Regions from separate parts of the Homo sapiens genome. Here regions 1, 3, 4 and 5 are each linked to region 2. Evidence: promoter capture Hi-C in 16 types of primary human blood cells and fetal thymus (Javierre and others, 2016). All regions are on one chromosome and are shown on one strand. Each heading gives the region's core, a stretch centred on a gene start or on the middle of the fragment in contact. The rest is flanking DNA. Distances are from core to core; before and after follow the strand shown.

Evidence for each region. The method cuts DNA at HindIII sites, captures the fragments that hold promoters and counts their contacts. A CHiCAGO score of 5 or more calls a contact.
Region 1: a fragment that was not itself captured here is called in contact with the fragment with the promoter of NTNG1 in region 2 in 2 of 17 cell types (endothelial precursors and M2 macrophages); the score reaches 8.9 in endothelial precursors.
Region 3: a fragment that was not itself captured here is called in contact with the fragment with the promoter of NTNG1 in region 2 in 2 of 17 cell types (endothelial precursors and M2 macrophages); the score reaches 10.4 in endothelial precursors.
Region 4: a fragment that was not itself captured here is called in contact with the fragment with the promoter of NTNG1 in region 2 in 1 of 17 cell types (total B cells); the score reaches 7.8 in total B cells.
Region 5: a contact is called between a fragment that was not itself captured here and the fragment with the promoter of NTNG1 in region 2, in 1 of 17 cell types (endothelial precursors). The highest score is 6.0, in endothelial precursors.

Annotation. Positions count from the first base shown.
Region 1 is chr1:106,035,477-106,038,176 of GRCh38, reverse strand. No RefSeq gene overlaps it. Among named protein-coding and RNA genes, the nearest start is that of LINC01677, 8.6 kb to the right of the region's middle. The HindIII fragment of the contact is 1,986 bases long and covers 376-2,361 here.
Region 2 is chr1:107,139,606-107,142,305 of GRCh38, reverse strand. NTNG1 (netrin G1) reads right to left here and starts at 1,267. Exons shown (of 8, transcript NM_001113226.3): 1 at 1,166-1,267. RefSeq lists silencers at 573-852, 873-1,162 and an enhancer at 1,096-1,627. The HindIII fragment of the contact is 6,022 bases long and covers 1-2,700 here.
Region 3 is chr1:106,010,485-106,013,184 of GRCh38, reverse strand. The region is part of intron 3 of LINC01677 (long intergenic non-protein coding RNA 1677); the gene reads left to right. Among named protein-coding and RNA genes, the nearest start is that of LINC01677, 16 kb to the left of the region's middle. The HindIII fragment of the contact is 2,404 bases long and covers 119-2,522 here.
Region 4 is chr1:105,707,955-105,710,707 of GRCh38, reverse strand. No RefSeq gene overlaps it. Among named protein-coding and RNA genes, the nearest start is that of LINC01676, 90 kb to the right of the region's middle. The HindIII fragment of the contact is 2,614 bases long and covers 155-2,753 here.
Region 5 is chr1:106,065,470-106,068,169 of GRCh38, reverse strand. All of the region lies in intron 1 of LOC105378885 (a long non-coding RNA gene), which reads left to right. Among named protein-coding and RNA genes, the nearest start is that of LINC01677, 39 kb to the right of the region's middle. The HindIII fragment of the contact is 1,334 bases long and covers 595-1,928 here.

The sequences.
Region 1 (2,700 bases), core at 119-2,618, 1.1 Mb after region 2:
TTAATGAGGCCAAGGTCACATTGATATATTCTGATTTCTAATCTTTAAATGTAATATTCTTTGTAGAAAGAAATCTGTGCAGAGATTTTAAAAATTGAATTATTTCTATTGTTTTTTTTTTGTTTGTTTTCTGTTTGCTTAAATTTTCTCAGATTATGCATGAAGACATTGAGTTCAAATGATGGTACAAATTTTTGTGTCAGGGTGTAAAATTTCAAGTAATTAAAAAAGAAATGGAAAGCAGCAAATGAACTCTTCCTTAGCATTATTAAAAGTCTGCAGTAAAAGACCCAACAAAGGAGAAAGAAAAGTAGAGAGACAAAGAAAGAATTAAATTTAAAAAATCCACAGATATAGCCACATAGTTGTCAAGCTTATTCCTGAAATGAGATCTGACATGCCAATATCAATTGGGAAAGATAAAGGTAATTTCAGTGTCTCTAAACATTTAGAGGAGCTACCAGAACAAAGTCAGTGAGATCTGTATCAACAATGTGGTTACAGCACTGGGAATGCATTGTGGGATTTTTTTTTTTTTCAATAAGTTGATCTAAAGAAGCCTGGCCAAGCTATTCACAGTCTCTGTTACATGAGTGTCACTTTGCAAAGTAGAACACACACTTGGAAGTGTTACCCTCCAAATACATTTTACATGTGGATTATGATTTAAAATTTTTTCTATGATCTAAAAAAAAGTGAATTATAATAGACTGTCAAAGAAAAAAATGAAGATGGAAATATACTATCATTCAGAAAGTAGTTACAGTCAAAATTTAGCCAGTTCCACTGTGAAAATTTGGTTTTTCTCTTTAACTTTTTCTCCTTTTTTCGTTATTAGTTTTAAATATAGGTTACGATCAGCTAACTCTGATTTCATTTGTTCCTCTTACTTTTTCTCAAGGGGCAGGAATACCTTCCAAGCAGGTCTGTAGTTAACCTGGTCATTTTTAAACTTTCAGCACGTTTAAATGAATGTTTCACAAATCAAATTTCTGAAGCTCAAGCTGCAACTTTCACTGTCTTTCTATGTAGCATTTGTAACAGTCATGGTACAAAGAAAAGGAGAACCAAGGTGAAGGGTATAGAATAAATGATTTACAAAAGTTAGACTCTAAGCAACCATGGGAGTTGATGGGACATTTTTGGCTGGCTAATGCTCCTGTGTCTAGCGTTGAATCTAAAGTCATTATAGCTTGGCCAGACAGTAATTAAAAATAAAATCTGGATATGAAAAAGATTAGTAGCAAATTGGAACCCAAAAGGATGAAATATCTGTCTTCTCCCACCTCTTACTTTGAAGCTATTGGAGACTTGTTATGAAAGCTGCTGCCTTTCACCACAGAGCTACATGTGCACTTGGCTTAGGACTCAGAGACTTTGAAGAAGATTTGCAGGAGCTAGAGGTCCAGATGTTACGAGCAGCAAGGTGAGCTCTAGATCAGTGACAACAACATTCTAAAGCTATTGTGGTACCATGCACAGGTTTCAGAGTATAAAAGTGTACAGCTGGTGATTCTCTTATGCCTTTTGGAAAGCAATCAAATGTGTCTTGTAACAATACTAACAGCAAACTACACAATAAAGACAACTAGGGAAAACGTAGTCCTAGCTTAGGTAACCTGATAAAATGCAAATTCACTAAAATCTACTCTTTGGCAAAATTTAACCCACACAGTTTTCTTTAAGCAAATAACTTCTAAATAAAGACAAGAACAAACCATGCTTTTGCCTAATAGGCGAAATGACCCCTCGTACAACTGAAAACTTGCCAACCATGCTCCCCAAAAGAGGTCGCTGCTTTTCAAAAATAAGTTATTCTTTTAAATTAGTCATATTGTTTTGTATATTAAAACTTAAACACTGAAATTATAAAAAAATCCTACTACTAACACATACAATGCTATATGATAGGGGAATAGGAGAGGGAAATACATCGATACATGTATACACAGACAATATGAAAGTGAAAAATAAATGTTTATAATTATTGCAGTGCATATTGCTCTAACTGGTCAGGGCCAAAGTTCTTCCACTAGCCATTCCATATTCTTCTGGATAGTCATTATTTCCTGTAGGGTGTGTTGTCCCGAAACTTCATTTCTAAATGGTCTGGGTCATTTGCAGTTCTGTCCCATCAGATTAGCTGTCTGTTGACTCTAATCAGCAAGGATAAGAGCTCTAAGAGGCATTTCATGAGATCTCCTTCATTTCAGACTTGACCATTCTCACCCATATTGTGCAGCAGCACCCCAATACCTCCTGAGAGTCACAATAAATTACCTGTCTCTAAGGTTCTTTTTTCCCTGATGGTTCACTAGCATTAGGGCACAAAACATCTATGTGAAATTTCAACTCTAAGCTTAACAAAACTATTGGTTTATCTTTTGGAAGAATCCTTTTCCTTTAGAAACAGGAATAAGAAGACCATCAGAGTCCACAGTTGCAGGGATGGGAAGCAAACCTTTCTGGATCACAATGGTGGGTAAGAAACGACACTTCACTGTTCACCTTTTCACTTCTGGACTTGTGAATTCTGGCTATGGTAAAAACATAACCATAGAGTAATCACTGATTTAAAGTTTACACTTTAGCCTGAGTAACATTACCACAGTGTCCCAGCATAGACTTCAGTAGGACATTTTACTGTTCTGTCAGGAAAGCTATTTCAAGGTGATGAGCAAAATGGTAAGATAAGTGAAT
Region 2 (2,700 bases), core at 18-2,517:
CCCCGGGTGAGGGTACTAAAATTAACAGCAGAGGGCGCAGTTTCTTTTTATATCTAAGTTTTTCCTTGTATGAATCACTTAATTGGTTATTTTAGGCCCAATAATATTCAGTATTATTTGTATTATATATAGATATCCACAGATCCATACAGGAGTGCAATTCAGTGTCCCTAGCCGAATCCATCAACCGATTAATATGATGCCAGTAAAGAATATGAGAGAATATTCCAAACAGCATCCCTACACCAAGTCTTCCTCTTTCAATTTCCCTTTCTCCCCAGCTGCACAACATGGGATAGTAATGTTTTAATCTAGCACCAATAAAGGCGATTAAAAGAAGGGACTTCAAAAGCTCTCGATGTGGCCACCAGATCCCCAAGGCCGGCAATAGGGCAAGTGTTTTTTTGTTTTTTTTGTTTGCTTTTCCCCAAACAAATATAATTGGCGAAAGAAAGAAAAAATAACGACAAGCCGCCTGAGCGATGTGTGTGGCCAGGTGTGCGTGAGAGAGGGAGAGCGCGGGGCCCCTGTCAGTCGGCGGATGGAGGCTCAGACCCCACGCCTGGGCTCCGGACACAACAAGAGGACGCATCACCGGCCCGGGGCGCACCCCCGGGAAGACTTGTGTGTGGGTGTGAGCGTGTGCCGCTGTGTGTGCGCGTAGGGCTCCGCGCGCTGCCTCCTCGGGGCGCTTTACAAAGTTCCTCGCCCACCCGGAGCCTTCCCTCCCGCCTGTGCATCGCAGCGGGTGGGGCGGGGGGCGGCGGGGGGTGGGGAAACCCGGGGGAGAGGGGCACGGGCGAGAGGCTCGGGTCGCAGTAGGAGAGGCGAGCCGCAGGCACTTACCGTGTGGCTCGTTTGCCCTTGCGCCGGGCGGGAGCCGAGCCGACGGCGCGGGGCGGCGGCCCTGCGCAGCCAGCCTGGTCCGCCTCGGGCGGCGGCCGCAGCAGCGGAGCCCGCGGGCGGCGTACGGGCGGAGGGCGGCAGCTCCCGCGGAGCCTCCTCCCCAGGCGGGAGCGGGCGGAGCGGGAGGGGTGGGCGTGAGGACCCGAGCCGCCGCCACCGCCGCAGCCCGGGGATTCCGATCGCGCCCGGCCGCCGGCGGGAGAGGACCCCGAGGACCGAGAACCCAGCGCCGGCCCGCCACTCCCCGCCGCTTAATTACCTTCGCCTCCGCCCCCGGGGGGAGCCTCCTGCAAGTCGCCCCCTCTCGGAGCCCGCACCCAGAGGGGGAATTCCTTCCCGTTGACGTCCTCTTCCGAAATGCAAAAGATCAGTGACTTTGACAGGTAGATGAGGGGGAGGGAGTAAGGGTGGGCGGAGAGGAAGAGAGGATGAGAAAGGTGCCTCTCCCTCCAAAAATATAGTGATATTAATAATGAGATCTCAGCCTTCGGAGGTCGTGCCAGCCCAGTCCCCTGCTCGCCGGCTCTCCTCCGCGCCTCCTCGCTCCGCTGCCTCTGACACTTCTCGCCTTAAACTTTTACTGAGGGATATTTTTTCTTTTTTCTATTTCTATTTCTTTTTTTTTTCCTCTTTTTTTTTTTTTCAAGCCGCAGGACGATTTTCTGGTTCCCGGGGATCAGAACCAGCGGCCAGGCGGTTCTATGCCGCTTGGCACCGCTTTCATTTTATTTCAGATGAAGACGTTGAGCTTAGTCAGAAGGGGCATAAATCAGGACAATTAGCATTGGCGCCAAGAAGATCCTCTAATACCAATTTCGCCCGGGTTTCCTTCGCGCATTCCTCCACTCAAGTCAGAAATGTCACTGCACATAGCACTGATGGCAGTGAGACGCGACGCACCCAAAGTCCGTTTGATGAAATATACATGGCCCACGACGCTTCTGGATTGCGGCTCCCGGACTCCCCGCCCCCACCAGCGGCTCCCGGCCGGGACCCTGCTCCGAGCGGGCAGCGAGCTCCTGGCAAACTTAGGGGCCAGTGCCAATTAAAGAGTGAGCGCGAGAGCCGGAAAGAGGAGCGGCAAAGAAGCAAGCCCGGGGAAGCCGCAGCCCTCGGAGGGGTGGCATGTACGTTTCACTTAAAAAGCAGATCTTCTTCTGCAACTGCCAGCAAGTGGAAGGATAGCAAACCTTATACTACCTCGAGACCTGTGCGCTCCGAGCGGTCCTAACTCCGTCCCGCTCGCTGTTGCTGTTGCTGGTGCTGCTCCGGCTGCAGCTGCTGCCGCTCCACGACCTCGGGGCGCTGAGGCAACAGGGCCCCCTCCCTCTACTCCCCATCCCCCCCGGCTCCTCCACAGAAGCGCCGTTTCCAGTAACTCCTCGTGTACCTCCCACTTCTGCCGCCGTCCATCCCACCCCTCTCTCTTCTGTCCCCTCCCCAAACCGTTCCCAAGCACACCCTTCGCCGCTGGAAGTGATCACAATGTTGTTTTTCAACAAGCACTTCCTTTGCCCGGAGGCCCCTACAGCCCTAGACTGGAAACTCCTCCTTTAGAAATTCATTCCCCTTTAAAAAGTTGAAGTTCAAGGGAGAGCTGCGCATTTCAGGCTTCCTTGCCTTTTCTAAGAGAAAGACAAATGCTCCGATGCTCCAGGCTTCATTCCCCACCAAGGCGGGCTCAGACTCACCTGGGATCACTCTTAGCTACACATTAACGTCAAACAGAAACAAATCCGAATTTAGATAAGATAGGGAGACTTCCATTAGAAAGAAAGACTATTGCAACAGGGA
Region 3 (2,700 bases), core at 71-2,570, 1.1 Mb after region 2:
GATTCTTTCCAGATCTCATAGTTTTAAGTTTGTGGCACCTCCCCACTTCGTTTCCTGCTCCTGCTGCCACCATTTGACTCACCTGGTCCCCCTTTGCCTTCTACTGTGATTGGAAGCTTCCTGAGGTCTCCCTAGAAGCAGACACCACTATGCTTCCTGTACCGCCTACAGAACCATGAGCCAATTAAACCGCTTTTCTTTTGAAATTACCCAGTCTCAGGTATTTCCTTACAGCAGTCTAATGTGAGAACAGCCTAATATAGGTCCTAAATATGTCTGGCATGTATCAGTGTATAAAAAATAACAACATTAAAGAAAAATTAATTGGAATTATTGTGATTCATACTATACATATGTAATTTAAGAGTATTAATGTGTTATTTTAAGAGACTCTATTAATCACATATTAATTTTGAAGATGACTTTGCTCATTGTTTGGTTAAGTATAATAGATTTCCCCAGATAATACGAGTTACAAATGCTTTCATTTTTGTGCTTTGAAATCACTATAAGAAACTTCATTGTGCTCTTCTTCTTTAGCTCTCAATCCAGTATAACATGTAAGTGAATTACTGTAATTAGAGTTGTCTTGTCATTTCATATTTTTGATAAAAATTTGGAATTGGTATTTACACAATCACATCAACAAACCTAATTAACTTCTCTACATACCCTTTACTAATGCAGAGTGAAACATCCAGGAACATGAAATATATTCTGTAAATTCAAAGGCCATAAAGGAAGTGGAATGTTGGATCAGAATAATGCCTAATGATTTAGTGACATTACAGTTTAATCTTCACATGAATATTTTGAGTTAGAGTATGTTGTTCATTAATTGGTTGATTATTTTATTCCAAAATATTTAATTGGCATGGTACTAGCTGCCATAAACTGTTTTAGGCACTAATTATACAGCAATAAACAAAAGAATAATACCTGCCCTGACGTAATCTACATTACTATTATTGTTACCATATAAATGAAAATAAACTGAGTTTAAAAAGTTGTTTTGGTTAATGTCACAAAAAAATGTGAGAGTTGAGATTTTAATACAAAGTTCCTTGACCTCAGAGTGAGTGCTGTTACCATACACACAGCAACATATGGCCTGTAACAATAGGCTACCAAGTCATAGATTTGTTAGGTCCCCAACACTGAAAATTAATAGTGAGTGGAGCTTTCTAGTTTTAAAAATATGTTTCCTAGAGAATGCTATAAAACATTGAAAGAAATCAAGGTAAAAAATCATGAATTAAACTATGTCTCTAAGAAACTCTGTAGCCTGTTCTGTTCCTTTCTATGCCTGATAATTTACTTGAATTGTCTTTGAATCTAAAGGGACAACAGAAAAGAATATTAGAGTATTTAAAATATTTAGACAATAAGTATTGTTCTGTATGTAACTTTGATTATTCCTTAAATTATTTTGGAGCAATCAAGATACCTCAAATACCTTCATTAATCAATTAATTAATCAATATCAGTTACAGCTGAAGAAAGAGGAAAACTTATGAGTTATAAACATATTCCATGTGTGATTGTGAGGCAATTCAATTTCAGCAATAAATTTTCAAATTCTAAACTTCCTTGAATTCAAATAGGCAAGATATTTATTTTAAGATTGCAAGAATTTTGATAATTATTTTCATGTAAGTATTTGTTTAATATTTCCTTGATTAACCATATTTTCCATGAAAGCAGAAACCTTTTCTTCTTGTTCACTGATGTGTCATCATGGCTTATTACACTTTGTATGTGATCAGTAAATGACTTAAATAAGTGAAGGGCTGAATGCTCCCAATAGTAACAGATATACAACACTCATCGCATTTTTGCCATCAAGCATTATTATTTTATTTATTTATTTATTTAAGCAGACGGAGCCTCACTCTGCCACCCAGGCTGGAGTGCAGTGGTGTGAATTCAGCTCAGCTCACTGCAGCCTCCACCTCCCAGGTTCAAACAATTCTCTGATCTCAGCCTCTCGAGTAGCTGGGACTACAGGTGCGTGCCAACACACCCGTCTAATTTTTTTATTTTTAGTAGAGTCAGGGTTTTGTCATATTGGCCAGGCTTGTCTCAAACTCTTGACCTCAAGAGATCCGCCCACCTCAGCCTCTCATTGATGGGATTACAGGTGTGAGCCACAGCACCTGGCCATCAAGTATTATCAATAATAATACTCAGTAATAATTTAATTAGTTAATTTATCAGGTGGGAGATTAACCTAACTCTTGTTATTATTTGGTTACTGGTGAGGATAAACACATTTTCTTCTGTTTATGTTTTTTTTTGTTAAATTCTTCATCTTAAATTGTTCATATGCATTTATATCTATTGAGATTTTACTTTATGTTTATGTTTTAGTTTAATTGATTCTTGTATGTAACAAGCAAATTGGCTACTTATATTTTCTGGGCAGTAAGCTGTCCCTTAATAGAGTATAAGACCTATCTCTTTTAAAGTGTTTTCAGTAATCACTGTTACTTTCTGCCTGGCACACGGACTTGGAAGAAGCTTAACAAGGCTGAGTTAAGGAAGAGGAATACCTGAAAACTAGATGGATAAGTAAGGCTTCCCCTTCCCAGATTCCAAAAATTGGGCAAGTAATTGACTCTTTTATTTGTCAATTAGTCTAATGATCAAGGCAATAAATATAAAACTGCCAATGTAAAACCTATTTAGCAAATATCAGGA
Region 4 (2,753 bases), core at 212-2,711, 1.4 Mb after region 2:
TTAACAGTTACAGATCGGTTTTTCTAAGGTAAGAGTTTAGTTTTAGATTAAGAAAGGATAAAACTCTCCTTGATTTCATATTATAATACTTTTGTAGCTGCTTAGAATTTTGATGTAAACAAATAATCATTAAATTTTAGGGGAAATAGAAGCTTAGTAAATTAGACTTTGACTGAACTCTGTTTTCTTGTACTTTATGACAAAATTCTAATGTAGATTCTCAAAAAATAGAATATTTCACCTTAAGCAATACAATCTTCAGCAGACTGAAACAATTTGTTTGATTCTGTGGCATACCATGAAATTTATTTTATTCTTTCCTTAGTACAAAAATAATTTCTATGGTATATATTTATTCTGCTTTTGAAAAAGGCATTGTATATATTCATTTTTGATGTAATTGCTTTTTTATTTTCTAGATTGTTGAACTTAATATTAGATGTCTTAGTTTTATAATTAGAATTTTTAACTAAAGAATAACAAAATTACTTCAAAGAGCATTAGTCTGAGAAATGTCTTTTAATTTGATCTTTAAATGCACATTCATGATTCTATTTCTTTTTATGGTAAAATTATCTCCCAAAATTATATATGATAAGGGTTAGAGTTGTCCTCCTAACATTAGTGTATATTATATTTGTTACACTTGGATATACTAAATAGTATGCTGATTTATATTACTAAGATAACATAAATCTTCTTAGGTGACCTGAAGTAAATTAGTTAATCTCTCTGCTCCATTTTCACATCTTGGAAAGAAGGATACTAATAATACCTAAAAGTAATATGATGATTAAATTAGATTAATACATGTAAAGTGCTTGGCAAGGTGCCTGGCATAAAATGTGCTCCCAATAAGTATTAACTATTATTATTAGAACAGTTAGACCTAGATATAGCTTAATATTAATTAACGTTAGTTATAGATCCTTGGGGTGATGTTAACTGTAGAAGAATTATAAACTAAGGGTCTTTCTTAGAATTTGGTTTATTGCATTGCTAATTTCTTCTTTGTTAAAGAAAAAAACAGGCTTTATGTATATTACAATGATGTAAAAACAAATGATATTTAAACTAAAAGATTAAATGAGAAATCAAGAACAGAAGGAGAAAATATTGTTTAAATAATTAAAAAATCAGACATAGAACTTGAAACAAATATGCTTAAGATACATGCCCAGTCTCATGATTTCCTAAGAAAATTTTTACCTTGAATAATAAGTAGGCTTGAAGGAAATGTGTCATGTAATTATGTATTCTAGAATGTGATTGGATAGTATATTTAAATAAATGTTTTTTAGTACTACTCAGAAGAGAGGAAGCCCTTGAATTACCTTGAATACAGAAAAGTTCTTCACGATTTCCAAGAAGCTGGGTAGTCTATATTACACACTACAATTTGCCAATTTGGATTTACAATGACAAATGAAGAGCAATGATATGTCCAACTTGAGAAACAATTGTCTTTATATTATTATTGCAGAACATCCTCCCTGCATACTGTAAGAGGGAGAAGATTAAGGCTGTGAATCAGGCTGTACTTTAAAATAAAAAAGATTTATGTGATTTTGATCAAATTATTGGACTACTGTGTTGATTGGTATCTTGTAGATTTTTGGTGATGTTAAGAAATGAAAGAGATGAGAGAGAGAAGGACTGGGGTGGAGAAAAGAGAAGAGTATGGATAGTGAGAATGAGAGGAGAGGTGAGAAAGAGAATAGAGAGGAAATCTGGAAAGCAGTAAACCTCAAAATGCTATTTGAATGAAATAAGATGTCCTTCATAAAGGATTTAAGCACTGTCAGTTCAAGGTGGCCAATCAAACAAACACAGTGGCCTCTCCATCCTAGGAAACCAGCATAGAATTAAATTCTTAGTGAATCAGAGGCTTTAAAAATGCGATGAATTACTATCTCTCAAATAATAAAAAATAGATTATTTTTTCTTATGTTCATTGCCTAAGGTAAGCAGAACTAGAAGCTATTTGTACATGTCTTGTGTCACTACTTACACATTATTTGTGTGGTTTCATTTTAGGTACATATACTATAAATTGACATTGATTTTAACGATGACTCTATATTTAATTGGTGAATTCATCCTGTTGATCTTCATTGTAGTTTGTGAAATGTTTCTATTCATTGTGTTTTCTTATTTTTTCTTTTCCATATCATGGTTTAAGTTTTATATTCTTCCTCTCTGTACACATTCTGAACCATTCAGTTTTTATTTTTTTCTGTTATTCAATTATTTATTTTATTTTTATTCCATTTGATGACCACTTCTATTTATGAAAGTTGTGCATTATACATCTATTCCTTTGATCATTACATTCACTTTCAAGACAGCGTTTCTCTAATCTTAATTTTCACCTCTACAAAATTGTAACAATTGTAGGTGAGAATTTTTAAATTGTACACAACTCACCTTGTTTCATTTTTATCCAGAAAACCAATTTTTCTTCAATTATGAATTTACTAAATTATTTTTTCATCATTTCTTGTATCTTATTTCTTGCCCCTGAGTTTACTAAACTTTTCTCAGCAATGTATCCTACAATAGTGGTTACTTTCAGGGGTTTCAAAGGTGACGGATTTTAACAATTTCTTAAAATGTAAAAAAGTTGTAGTTGCTGAGAATCACTTTTAAAACAGTGCCGAGGTGGGTGGATCACGAGGTCAGGAGCTCAAGAGCAGCCCGGCCAGCATGGTGAAACCCCCTCTCTACTAAAAATACAAAAATTAGCCTGGTGT
Region 5 (2,700 bases), core at 12-2,511, 1.1 Mb after region 2:
TTATTTATTAACCATTAATATGAGCTTAAACTTTTCATATTCAGAACAAGTTATTGTTGCCTTTGATGATATTATTAGAAAGACATTTTCATACAGTGTTGAACAACTCTATGAAAAGAATGTTTCCATATGCATGAATATATGAAAATAACTATTTTACAAAGAATAGCTTTAGCTTTGTATTTTAGGACAATTTTCACAGTGGGAGAAAGAACCAGTAATATATTTACTCCAAATAATCAAAATACGTTAGGCTCACAGTCAGGTACATAATTCATATGGCCTTCAATAAGTACAAGTGGTCTTGATGATTTTAGATGATTAGTTTTTAATTCTAGGGATTCCTAAGAGCTGAGCTAGAGGAAAAAAGTGCAGTTTTCTGATAATGTTCTTAAGCACATATAAAGAAATAAAGTTTTAAATTGTATGCCAGGAGCTAAGCTATACATGCATGACACAAAGAAATGAACTAAAATTGTAATTCTTGACAGATGATTGCAGTCTAGCTAAAATGTCAGTGACAAAAAAGATTTAGTAGCAATTTTGATTAAATATTCAATGAAGGAGGAAATAAAAAGAGACAATGAATAAGCTTAGGAATATGTGGAAAGAGATGCGTCCATTTACTTGATAGTCTCCAGATTAGAAAAAATTAATAATAATAATCATCATCATCATAATGAATAACAATACATCTATTTTTTATTGATTTTCAAAAGCACAGTCTCTCCTGGGATCAACTGCTCACTTTTTATCTGTCTAGTATAGGTTTTTCTGCTTCTTGGTTTGCCAGGTCCCTGGCTTGTTACTAGTTTGCCAGAGCTGCAGTTCTTGCTTTAGTCAACTTCACTGAGAACATTCGTCCTCATCATGCCAATGATATTCTGGATCGCACCTTGTTCAATATGCCTTTATACAGATAAAACTCTGGCCCTTTCCTGCTTAATTCTGGGCTTGCTTGACCCTCTTCCTCAGTTAAACTAAAATTTCTGAATGGGCACTGAGTTGTTGCCTGTTATTCAAATACAAAATTTCTGGACCCATCCACAAGGACTCATGAATCATAATCATCTACATATTAAAAGGATCCTCACATAATTTTTGGATACACATATTTCAGAACCAGTTATCTATGTTGTTTTGATTTTTTAAATTCTAATAGTTTTTCCATTAGGCAAACAAAATCATCCTATGCTGATTGGTTGATTTTAAAACTTTTAATTAGACAACAATGTATTTTCAATACATGAAGTAATTTGTGACTAACAGAGATGTCTAAGAAAAGAGAAAGCCTTGAATAATCTTGAATGATAAGAGATATATCAGTTTCTATATCTGTTCATCACTTGATGGACTCTTAGGTTGATTTCACAGCTTAGCTATTGTGAATAGTGTTGCAATAAACATGGGAGTGCAGATACCTCTATGACACACTGATTTCATTTCCTTTGGATATATACCCAGTAACAGCATTGCTGGATCATTTGGAAGCTCTATTTTTATTTTTATTTTTTTTGAGAAACCTCCTTACTTGTGTCTGTGACTATGGAACTTAATATCCCACCAGCAGTGTATAAGAGTTCCTCTTTCTTCACATCCTTACCAACACTTGTTAGCTGTTGTCTTTTTGACAATAACATGTGTGAGGTAATATCTCATGGTTTTAATTTACATATCCCTCACGATTAGCGATGTTGAGCATTTTTCATGTACTTATTGGCAATTTATATGGCTTTTCAGAAATGTTTCTTCAGGTCTTTTGCCCATTTTTAATTGGGCTATTTGTTTTCTTGCTGTTCAGTTGTTTGAGTTCTTCAGATATTTTGGATATTTACCCCTTACCAGACACACAATTTGCAAATATTTTTCTCTCATTCTCTAGATTGTCTTTTCACTTTGTCAATTGTTTTTATTATTATACAGAAGCTTTTCAGTTTAATGTAATTCCATTCATGTATTTTTTTTGTTTTTTTTTGCTTCCGCTATCTGTGTTTTGAGGGGTCATATCCAAAAGACAGTTGTCCAAACCAAAGTCATGAAGCTTTTTCCCTGTTTTCTTCTAGTGGTTCACAGTTTCAGGTAGTACATTTAAGTCTTTAATCCATTTTAAGTTGATTTCTTTATATTGCCTACAGTAGAAATCTAATTTCATTCTTCTCCACATGGTTATTCAGTTTTCCCAGTACCATTTATTAATTAATTAATTTATTTATTCATTTATTGAGATGGAGTCTTGCTCTGTCACCAGCTGGGAGTGCAGTGGCGCGATCTTGGCTCACTGCAACCTCTGCCTCCTGGGTTCAAGCAATTATCCTGCTTCAGCATCCTGAGTAGCTGGGACTACAGGCACGAGCCACCATGCCCAGCTAATTTTTTATATTTTTAGTGGAGATGGGGTTTCACCATGTTGGCCAGAATGGTCTTGATCTCTTGACATTGTGATCTGCCTGCCTTGGCCTGCCAAAGTCTTGGGATTACAGGCGTGAGCCACTGCACCCAGCCAGCTCCCAGTACCATTTATTGAAGGTATTCTCCCTTCCTCATTGTGTGCTTTTGACAACTTTGTTGAAAATGAATTGACTGTAAATGCATGGATTTATTTCTGGGCTATTATGTTACATTGGTTTATATGTCTGTTTTTATGCTAGTACCATGCTGTTTTGGTTACTATAGCTTTGTGGTATACTTTGAAGTCAGGTA